2 separate regions of the Homo sapiens genome follow, and region 1 is linked to region 2. Evidence: promoter capture Hi-C in human tissues and cell types (Jung and others, 2019). All regions are on one chromosome and are shown on one strand. Each heading gives the region's core, a stretch centred on a gene start or on the middle of the fragment in contact. The rest is flanking DNA. Distances are from core to core; before and after follow the strand shown.

Region 1 (5,091 bases), core at 1,290-3,789, 660 kb after region 2:
ACTGGATAGTGTTATATGTAAAGATAAAGGGTATTATATATCAGGTTCTGAGAATATAGCAAGCATTCAATAAATAGAAAATATTACTTTTTACATAAACATATAATAAAAGAAGATTTATAAAACAAAAAGATGATTTGTAAAATCATAGTATAAAAGAAACCCACAATGTTGCTAGCTCTTCTTCTGACCTTTCCCCCATGCACTCATTTATTTGTTGCATTATTACATGTTATTAAAGTATATATGATTTGGTATCCTGTATTTTTTTCACTTAAAAATATGCTAAATATTTTTCTATGCTTTTCAAAATAATTTCTAAATGATACATAGCAACTTAAAATAGTACCAGCAATGTCTGAGGGTAGCAGTTTCATTGTATTCTGACCTGTATTTTGTGTTATTATTTGTGAAAAATGTTTCAAAAATCTATCCAGTGGTGCAAAATTAAACAAATTTTTTTTTCTAAAACGTTCTCAGTCAAAATAGAAGTCAGCATGCTAATTACAGGACTAAAAAGAATAGAAGACACAATAAAATATGAAAACATTTCATATCAAAACCCATTGATTATGACCAAAACTGAATGCAGAAGAAAATTCATAGATCTGTGAGTTACCATTATTATTAATAAAATGATGGAATGCTTTCTAATTCAGCATGTATAAACTCTAGAACATAACAAAATAAAAGGAAGTAAAAGTGGAAAACAAAAGAGAAAAACAAAAAAAATTAATAAGCAAAACCAGGAGCCAGTTCCTTCAAAGGATTAACAAGACAGAAAAAACACTGGTGCAGCTCACCAGGAAGGAAAAGCATTAGAAATCACAAAGGGCACATAGCCACAGATATAGGAAATTAAAAATATTATGGAACTATATGATTAGAACTCTATGTCAAATATTTGAAAATTCATAAGAACTAGATGGTCTTATAGAAATATGTGCACTACCAAAAAGAAGAGGTAGAAAACCCGAGTGATTGAATAAACATAAAAGAAAATTAAGAAGTTGTCAAATATTTTTATGCAGCCATAAAATCCAACTGTATGTTAAAAAATAATAGGTGACAACCAAGTAATATTCATTTTAGGGAGGTACATATTTTTTAACATGCAATTGTTAAAGTATGCCCCTAGCCAACAGACAAAATGGGCTCCCCATGGCAAACTGAGGTGCTCCAAGTTAAAACAGAACCAGGCAGCTATGGCTGGGTGAGGGAGTGATCATGTACTCTGTGTTCTGAGAAAGACGTTGTAAAAGCATCACAGGACCTTTCTCCAAACCAGTTCCCGTTGTGAGTGCCAAGATATGCCAGCCCTCCACCCGCCATTTGGAAGAAACAGGTGACAAAGACTTCTGGTTTTGAGCTTGGAAAGTAACTAATCAGATCACACCTAAGCCAAACAATCAGAGTCACCTGCCATGGCCAATCAGGGCTCAGCTGCACTGACCAATCGGAACTGAGATTCAATCCTTCATTTGCATAAAAAGACCTGACCCTGGGCAGGCAACTTTGCTATAAAACCCAGCGCTGAAAGGCTGCTTCATTTTACACCGCAGGCCGTGTATCCTCTGTTTGCAAACTGTTCACTGGAATAGTGTCTTTCCTACACATTCCGTTTCAGAGAACTTTTGTTCACACAATGCCCAAACAATACTCAGATATTACCTCCACATTTCCAGTCTTCTACCTGTTAGTGAGAAATGTAAGTTGTCTAAAGAGACCTGGACCCTAAATCTTATAACCAAGACTCTGTAAGCTAGGACTGGCCTGCCAGAAAATACTTAATGGGTACAAAGTTCATTGAGTGATGGATACCCTAAAGCCCTGAATTCACCACTATGTAATCTATCCAAATAACAAAATTAAACTTGAATCCCATACATTTACACAAATTTTAAAAAATTAAAATATTAAAAATTACAAAAAAGAAAATAGAGGGGTTGTTCTGATCCCTTTTAATACGCTTTATAGGGAATAAATGAATTTCATTCATTTCTGATGAAATTTAGCCCAAAGGTGAAATCCCACTAGCCTAGATGATATCCAAAATTACTTTCTTTTTCTATATTTGGGAAACAACAGGTCTGGCTTCCACCTAAAGAGATTAAGAAACCATGAATCAATTATATTAACAGATTTCCTAAACAACAGAGCTTCAAATCAAAGACTTACATAAGTTAGTATTTGCCCTTCAGTGCATTCATGTAAATATCACAAAAAATAATTTATGTTTTCTAAACATTAAATATTAGATAAGTTGACTTGGGAGGGCCTTTCTGAGAAAATGACTTTTGAGTGAAAGTCTGACTGAAATGGGGGAGCTAGGAGATATACGTAGAAAGTGAGCATTACAGGTGGAGGGAACCAAAACTTCCAAGGTCTTGAGGTGGAGTGTACCTGGCATCCTAATGGAATTACAAGGAAGCCACAGTGGTAGACAGAACCAGGAGGAAGAAGAGTAGGGAATGAGATTAGAGAGGTAATGGGAGGCTAGATCATGTAGGACCTTTCATTCGTAGGAAAGACTGGCTTTTACTCTGAATCATATGGGAAGCCGTTGGATTACACTGAACAGAGAAGTGTTATAATCTAACACTTATAATCTAATGTTTATAATGATAAACATTATAAGAAGTGAATATAAAAGACCACGGTAAAACATAGGAGCATTCCTAGTAAAATCAGCATAAAAGCAAGGGTGTTTACTATCCCTCTTATTATTGAACATTGTTATAGGGTTGCATTGTTATAGAGAAGAACCATGTAGTGGAAAAAAAATACCATGCACATGAGAAAGGAAGTAACAGAATCATAGTTATTTGCAGATATGTGTGTATCTATTTAGAAAACCCAATAGAATCAATAAAAAACTAATAGAAACAGTAATGGAGTTCATTAAGGCAGCTATATTATTATGATGTTTATGAAAAGAAAAATACTTATAAGATACAATCTATATTTATATGAAAAATTACATATTAGAATTGATAAACTTCAGTGATGTGTGTTTTAAAAGCTTCCATAAATACCAGTAATAAATGATATGAAAATATAATGAAGGAAAAGAGTCCACTCACAATAAACCTAGAAACATAAAATACCCAGGAATAAAATTAACAAAAAACATACAAGATCTTCTTCATAAGATCAAAACTTTACCAATGACATTTGTTTAAACTTAAATAAATGGAAAGGTATACCATGTTTCTGGATGGAAAAATTCAATATTCTAAAGATGCTGATTCTCATTAAGCAAACTGTAAATTCAATGAAATTCCAATCAAATTTCTGTGAGCTTTTTTAAAAATATGACAAATTGACTCTAAAATACAATTAAAAGAATAAATAAGAGAATGATAGGTGGAATATGGGGAAAATATGGAACTCATATATTTATATAAATTCAGTTTATAAAAAAATGGAATTTCAAATCATGGGGGTAACTGGTCAACAGATGCTATTAGAATTTTTTTTAATAAACAAAAATAAATACCTATCTGAGACCATTTAAAAAGTAATTTCTAGCAGAATCAAAAATTTTAATGTTAAAATCATAAAATTATTACAAGCCCATGTAAATTAATAGTTTTCTAATCCTGAAGTGGGAAGGGTCTTTTTAAGCATAACAGAAAATCTAGAAATTTTAAAGAAAAGATTGAAAACTTTGACAAGAAAAATACTTAAAACTTTGGTATGACAAAGGCTACAAACAAAATTAAAAGAGAAATGGCAAAGCAGGAAGGTATTTACAGCATACATTGACAAAGAGTTACAATTCTGAATAGAAGCATCACAACAGGAAAAAAATGGGCAAAGGATAAAGACAGGCTATTTATAGACCAAGAAATACCTATGGATCTAATGACTTCAATTCTAAAATTTCTGACAAGTGCTTTCACAAGTGCACAGAAATGTATGTATTGGATATTTGGGGAAATTTTGTGTTATTAAAGATTACACAAATGTCAAGTGTCCATTATTTAAGGATTGGTTAATTATCATACATGCATAGTGAATAACTATATAGCCATTTTAAAAAATGAGATAGATTCATACAAAATGAAATAAAGAATGTCCCTTAAAAATTGTTCATTTAAAATTATAAGCTGCAAACATAGCGGGGAGGTGGTGGGCTCACACCTGTAATCCCAGCACTTTGGAAGGCCAAGGCAGGAGGATAGCTTCAGGCCAGGTGTTCAATGCCAGCCTGGGCAACATAGCAAGATCCTGTTTCTGCATACAAAAAATTAATAGTTGTTGTTTTAGTCCATTCTTGCACTGCTATAAAGAAATACCTGAGACTGGGTAATTCACAAAGAAAAGAGGTTTAATTGGCTCATAGTTCTGCAGGCTGTACAGGAATCATAGCAGCTTCTGCTTCTGGGGAGGCCTCAGGAAGCTTCCAATCATGGTAGGAAGTGAAGGAGAAGCAGACACATCTTACATGGCCAGAGCAGGAGCAAGAGGGGAGGGGGAAGTGCTATGCACTTTTAAACAACAAGATCTCTTGAGAACTCTATCACTATACAGTACCAAGAGGGGATGGTGCCAAACCATTCATGAGAACTCTGTCCCCAGGATCCAATCACCTCCTACTTGGCCCCACCTCCAACACTGGGGATTACAATTCGACATGAGATTTGGTAGGGACACAGATCCAAACCATATCAGCCACATATGGTGGCATGAACCTGTAGCCCTAGCTACTCAGGAGGCTGAGCTGTGCCCACGAGTTGCAGGCTACAGTGAGCCATAAATCACACCACTGCACTCCAGCCTGAGTGAGACCCTGTCTCAAATAAATAAATAAATAAATAAAATTATAAGCTACAAACAGTATGTATAGAACTATTATACATATATAGTAGTAGGAGCTCATTAAAATATACATGTACACATATACATTTATGTGAACATACATTTACACATAAAGAAAAGTCTGGAATTATAAAACTCAAATTTATACTAATAACAATGAACATTTACATTGCAGTTACTATATGCCAAGCATTATTTCTAAATGATTTTTCATACATTAACTTGTTTAAACTACCAAACATCCCTATGAGGTAGGCACTATTTTCC
Region 2 (4,922 bases), core at 47-2,546:
ATAGCCTCTGAACCCTTCTCACTGCTCCAGTTTATTCTCTACAAAGCATCTAGACCAGGCAGAATGATTTCAGGGACACACATAACTGATCCTGTCCTGTTGTTCTACTGCCTAAAACTTCTCAGTGGTTTCACATTGTCTTTAGGATAAAATCTCAGATCCTTAATAGGCCCAAGACCTTGCCACCTCGCTAGGAACCAGCCTCGCCTCTTGGTGTTCCTGGAAAGAGTCAAGCTCCTTACAAACCTTTATACACAATTTACTCTCTGCCAAGAGCTCTCTCCCCCTCCTGGCTTATCTTTCTCCAGTTCTTAGATTTAATGTTCTTTCTTCAGATAAGCCTTTCTTAACCTCCTACACCAGGTCAACGCTTCTTGTTAACCACTTCCTTAGTAACCTCCACTTTGCTTTGTAAGTAAATGATTATTTGTGTAACTAATAGTTTAATGTCCCCTCTTCATGTTAATGCAAACTTCCTGAGAAAGTGTTGGTAACACACAAGAGTAATTCAGGGATCCCTGAATCCAATTGTGTCTGATTCTAGGGCCCATGTCCACAACTACCAAACGTACGTAAATCTGCTCATTCTGGAAGATGGCTTTTTGCTTCTTTATTTCATGATAGCCAAATGTTGATGCATGGGAAACCCTGCATCATATAACATCGCTGAGCAAATTCTAGAGCAATGATGTTGGGCTACCCCTTTGTGTATGTTCTGTGAGTAGTGGACCATATACACCTCAGCTTTTACTTTTGTTGACTACAGGCTGGACTAGCTGGACTAGCTGCCCACATGCTTAAACAGAGGTAACATTAACCACTTTACAGGGTTGTAATAGTACTCATTTGTCCAATAAATACGTAATGAGCATTCAGTATAGGCCAGATGTTGGTTTAGATGCTGGGGATATCTTTAGCAGAGTGCTTACCTCCTTTAATGTTCCAGCTGGTCACTATTACTAGTAGTGTCATAATTGTGTGTCGATGCTTGCTTATGTCACGGAGTATGGGATTTGTGACGTTTGCCACTCATGGGCAGGGTCCCTGCGGCGCCTGGACCTCCAACGGCACAAGGGCGCGGACTCCACAGCATCACTGCGCGGCGTGGCCGCCTCTCTGCTCCAGGCCGCCAGAGGGCGCGTGGTCTCTACTGCCCCTCCGCTGTGCCTGAGCCTGCCCCTTACCAGCCACCCGGCCTCCGTTCCCCTCCCCAACGGCGCCTGTCCCGCCTTGCATTCCCAAGCTCCGCCCCCGTTGCCCGTAGCGGCTGTTTGTTGACTTCCGGGAGCGCGGTTGTAGTTGATCTCCGGAGTTTCGCCATGCGGAACTTGGGGGCTTTCGCGGCCCGCGTCGGTGCGGAGTAGCTGCTTTAGCCCCGACCAAACCGTCCTCTACAGCCTCCTGGCCCCGGCGCAGGCTGCCCGTACTGCCCGTGGCATGAGGGAGCCGGAAGAGCTGATGCCCGGTGAGTTGCGCCCGCGCCGGTGGCGGAAGGCCGGGAGGGAGGGTCCGCGGGCGGCCGGGCCCCGCCTCCGGATCGGCCCTGTAGGGGGACAGGCCCCAGGCTTGGCAGCCGGACTGGGGCGGGATCGCTGGTTGCGCTCCCGCGAATGACTGAGGGCAGAGGACCGGACGGGAAGAACAGGATGGGGGAGAACGGGAAAGAGGGTGCCTGTCTTTCGTATGCTTTTTAAATAAGCTCTTGATGAGCTTCTTGAAGGCAGGGACACTTTTTTTTTTTTTTTATGAGACGGAGTTTCACTCTTGTTGCCCAGGCTGGAGTGCAATGGCGCAATCTCGGCTCACCGCAACCTCCGCATCCCGGGTTCAGGCGATTCTCCTGCCTTAGCCTCCGAGTAGCTGCGATTACAGGCATGCGCCACCACGCCCGGCTAATTTTATATTTTTAGTAGAGACGGGGTTCCTCCATGTTGGTCAGGCTGATCTCGAACTCCCGACCTCAGGTGATCAGCCCACCTCGGCCTCCCAAATTGCTGGGATTACAGTCGTGAGCCACCGCGCCCGGCCAGGGAGGGACACTTTCTGTAAACTCCCCAAAGTGCGGACTCCAGACTTGTGCACTTTGGAGGTCCTGAGCTCCCGGTTATGTATTGAATGCAGTAAAGAGTGAGTGATCAGGGCTGTGGGGTAAAAGGGGATACAGGAAATAAATTGGACAAAGAGGGAGAAGAGGGACCCTTTAGCGAGTGTTTTTTAGCCTTTTTTTTCCTGAGCTCCATAGTTAGAAATACTTTTGACATTGTGACCCGATACTCCATATATACCGTGTAACAGAAATAGATGTCTGGTGAAGCAGTCCTTGTTCTATCCACTTAGATTCCACACACACCTTTTTGATAATGCATTCTTTTAAAATGCTGATCGTGATCCACTGAATTGATTTTCTGGCCCACTAATAGGTCACGACCATTTTGAAAAAACACTGGGTTTGAGCAGAATCATACCTTCACTGAAATATGTATGTTTTCTTCCATGCTCCTGGCCGGAACTGACATTCCTGGCCTGCAGTTCACAATTTAGTGAGACATACAGGAAAGTAAACAAAATGACCATATAAATTGACAGTAGATATTACAGGGCCAGAGCAGAGCCACCAAACCTTGGCTTGGGATGAGGGTATCAGGGAAGCCAGGGGAGCCAAGACAAAACAGTTAAAATGTTAAAGTAATTCATTCTGGGGAAACTCAGAGTCTGTTCTAGATCCTAGTCTCCCAACTCAATTATTAGTTGGAACTGAGATGCCTCACAGTGGTTCTCAAAAAGTTGTCCACAGTGGCTAGTCTCTTGCGTATTAATATTTATTATTAATACTTATATTCGCTATGTTTTCCTTTCTGGTACGAATTAGTTTATGTGTGATCACCCACCTTGGGATTTCCCCAAAAGCTGGACCTGGCCTACTATTTGGTGTATGTGTGTGTTTAAATGGTTATTGGGAAATGGTAGGGGTTTTTAGTCTTTCTTCAAAATGACGCTGTGCCACAACAGTTTGTGAATACTACTCAGATCAGGTAATGACTTGATGTAAGAATGTTAAAATCTCAACATCCCCATGTACTCCTCTCCCAATCTCCTAGGACCGTGGCATTTTGTGATGATGTTTTGGGGGGAAAGATAAACCGTCCTTTCCCATGTACTGTTTCTGGAAAGAGAAAAAGACATCTCTATAACTAACTATAGTGCATGAGTAAGATGAGAATTAGAAACTTCCTGAGTAGCTGTGTTGAGAGGATCTTTTCATTTTATAACTGGATCCCTAAACATTCTGAATTCTCAGAAATCAGGAAAAGCTAAAGTGCTCCTTTGTTGACGACTTGGTAACCTGTCTTTTATATTAACAATGTTGAAAGTTATATTTGACTACAAACTCTCCATTATGATGAATTGGTAAACAAAACATTCAACAGTTACGAATATACATGTGTGTAAGGGGGACCTTTTCTGTGTGAAAAGTAGAACACACAAGGGCTACTTTGTGCTAGGCAATATGGGTAGTGCATACCCTCTGTAACCTTAGAAAATAGTTGGAAAAAAACAACATTTGGGGTAACAAATGGTGAACTCTGTGTTTCAACACAGAAAAGCAGTGACTTTTTTTTTTTTTTTTTTTGAGACGGAGTCACAGTCACACTGTCGCCCAGGCTTGAGTGCAATGATGCTATCTTGGCTCACTGCAACCTCCGCCTCTGGGGTTCATGCAATTGTCCTGCCTCAGCCCCCCGAGTAGCTGGGATTACAGGCGCCCACCACCACGCCCGGCTAATTTTTGCATTTTTAGTCGACACGGGGTTTCACCACGTTGGCCAGGCTGGTCTCGAACTCCTGACCTCAAATGATCCACCTGCCTCGGCCTCCCAAAGTGCTGTGATTACAGGCGTGAGCCACCACTCCCGGCCGACATTTTTAAAGTATAGCTTTTTATTGCTTTGTGATGACCTCATCTTACATATTGTGCTACCTACCAATCTCTCTAATCAAACTGTTACACAAATCTTGCTGATTTGTGTAACAGTTTGATTAGAGAGATTGCTAGGTAGCACAATTATTTGCCATATAAATTCTACAGATCACGTAGTTCAGAGAAGCCAGTGATCATTTCCAACTCTTATGGTAGAGGAAGAGTTTACAGAGGTAGCTATTGAGCTAACACTTTGAGGATGCTAGGCTCTGGGCTAAGTTCTTTATACATGTCATCTCATTTAATCCTTACAACAACCTTTGAATACCTAATTGCCTTTAAAGCCTATGGTTTTTTTTCTAGCTGCTTTCCCTTAGTTCGAATGAAAGAGATAGTGGTGGAGTAATTTGTTTCTCTCTGTGCTGTCTCCGGTTTTATGGGTATTCATTGGGATTACCAACAGAGAAATTAAGAGTTCACCATTTTGGCCGGGTGTCATGGTTCACGCCTGCAATCCCAGCACTTAGGGAGGCCGAGGCAGGAGCCCAGGAGTTTGAGACCTGAGCCTGAGACCAGGAGTTTGAGACCAGCCTGAACAACATGCTAAAACCCAGTCTGTGCAAAAATTACAAAATTTAGCTGGACATGGTGGCACACGCCTATAGTCCTAGCTACTCCAGAGGCTGAGGCGGGAGGATTGCTTGGGCCCAGGAGGTCGAGGCAGCAGTTAGCCGTGATTGTGCCACTGCGCTTCAAGCTGGGTGACAGAGTGAGACCCTGTCTCAACAAAAATAAAAAGAGTTCACCATTTGGGCTAACATTGTTTCCCTTACATGAGAACACTGGAGGTTCCTTGGAAAAACTGGACCAAAGAAAATCCAAATTGACTGATAGAGACTCTCCCCATGGATAGCCTGATGATGTTAATGAGGAAACGAAATACTGTCCTGTTTCTGTGTGTGGAGAAAAGCTCTCAGTCAGAGGCCAGACCATGAGGTGTTAA

The links. The method cuts DNA at HindIII sites, captures the fragments that hold promoters and counts their contacts. A contact is called where the count stands out against the background at its distance.
Region 1: a fragment that was not itself captured here is called in contact with the fragment with the promoter of RPGR in region 2 in 1 of the 25 tissues and cell types used here (IMR-90 fibroblasts).

The regions. Positions count from the first base shown.
Region 1 is chrX:37,668,932-37,674,022 of GRCh38, reverse strand. The region is part of intron 4 of LANCL3 (LanC like family member 3); the gene reads right to left. Among named protein-coding and RNA genes, the nearest start is that of XK, 14 kb to the left of the region's middle. The HindIII fragment of the contact is 7,843 bases long and covers 1-5,091 here.
Region 2 is chrX:38,323,883-38,328,804 of GRCh38, reverse strand. RPGR (retinitis pigmentosa GTPase regulator) reads left to right here and starts at 1,296. Exons shown (of 15, transcript NM_001034853.2): 1 at 1,296-1,465. The coding sequence starts at 1,438. It also overlaps a transcript of OTC not described here. RefSeq lists a silencer at 1,358-1,607. The HindIII fragment of the contact is 21,321 bases long and covers 1-4,922 here.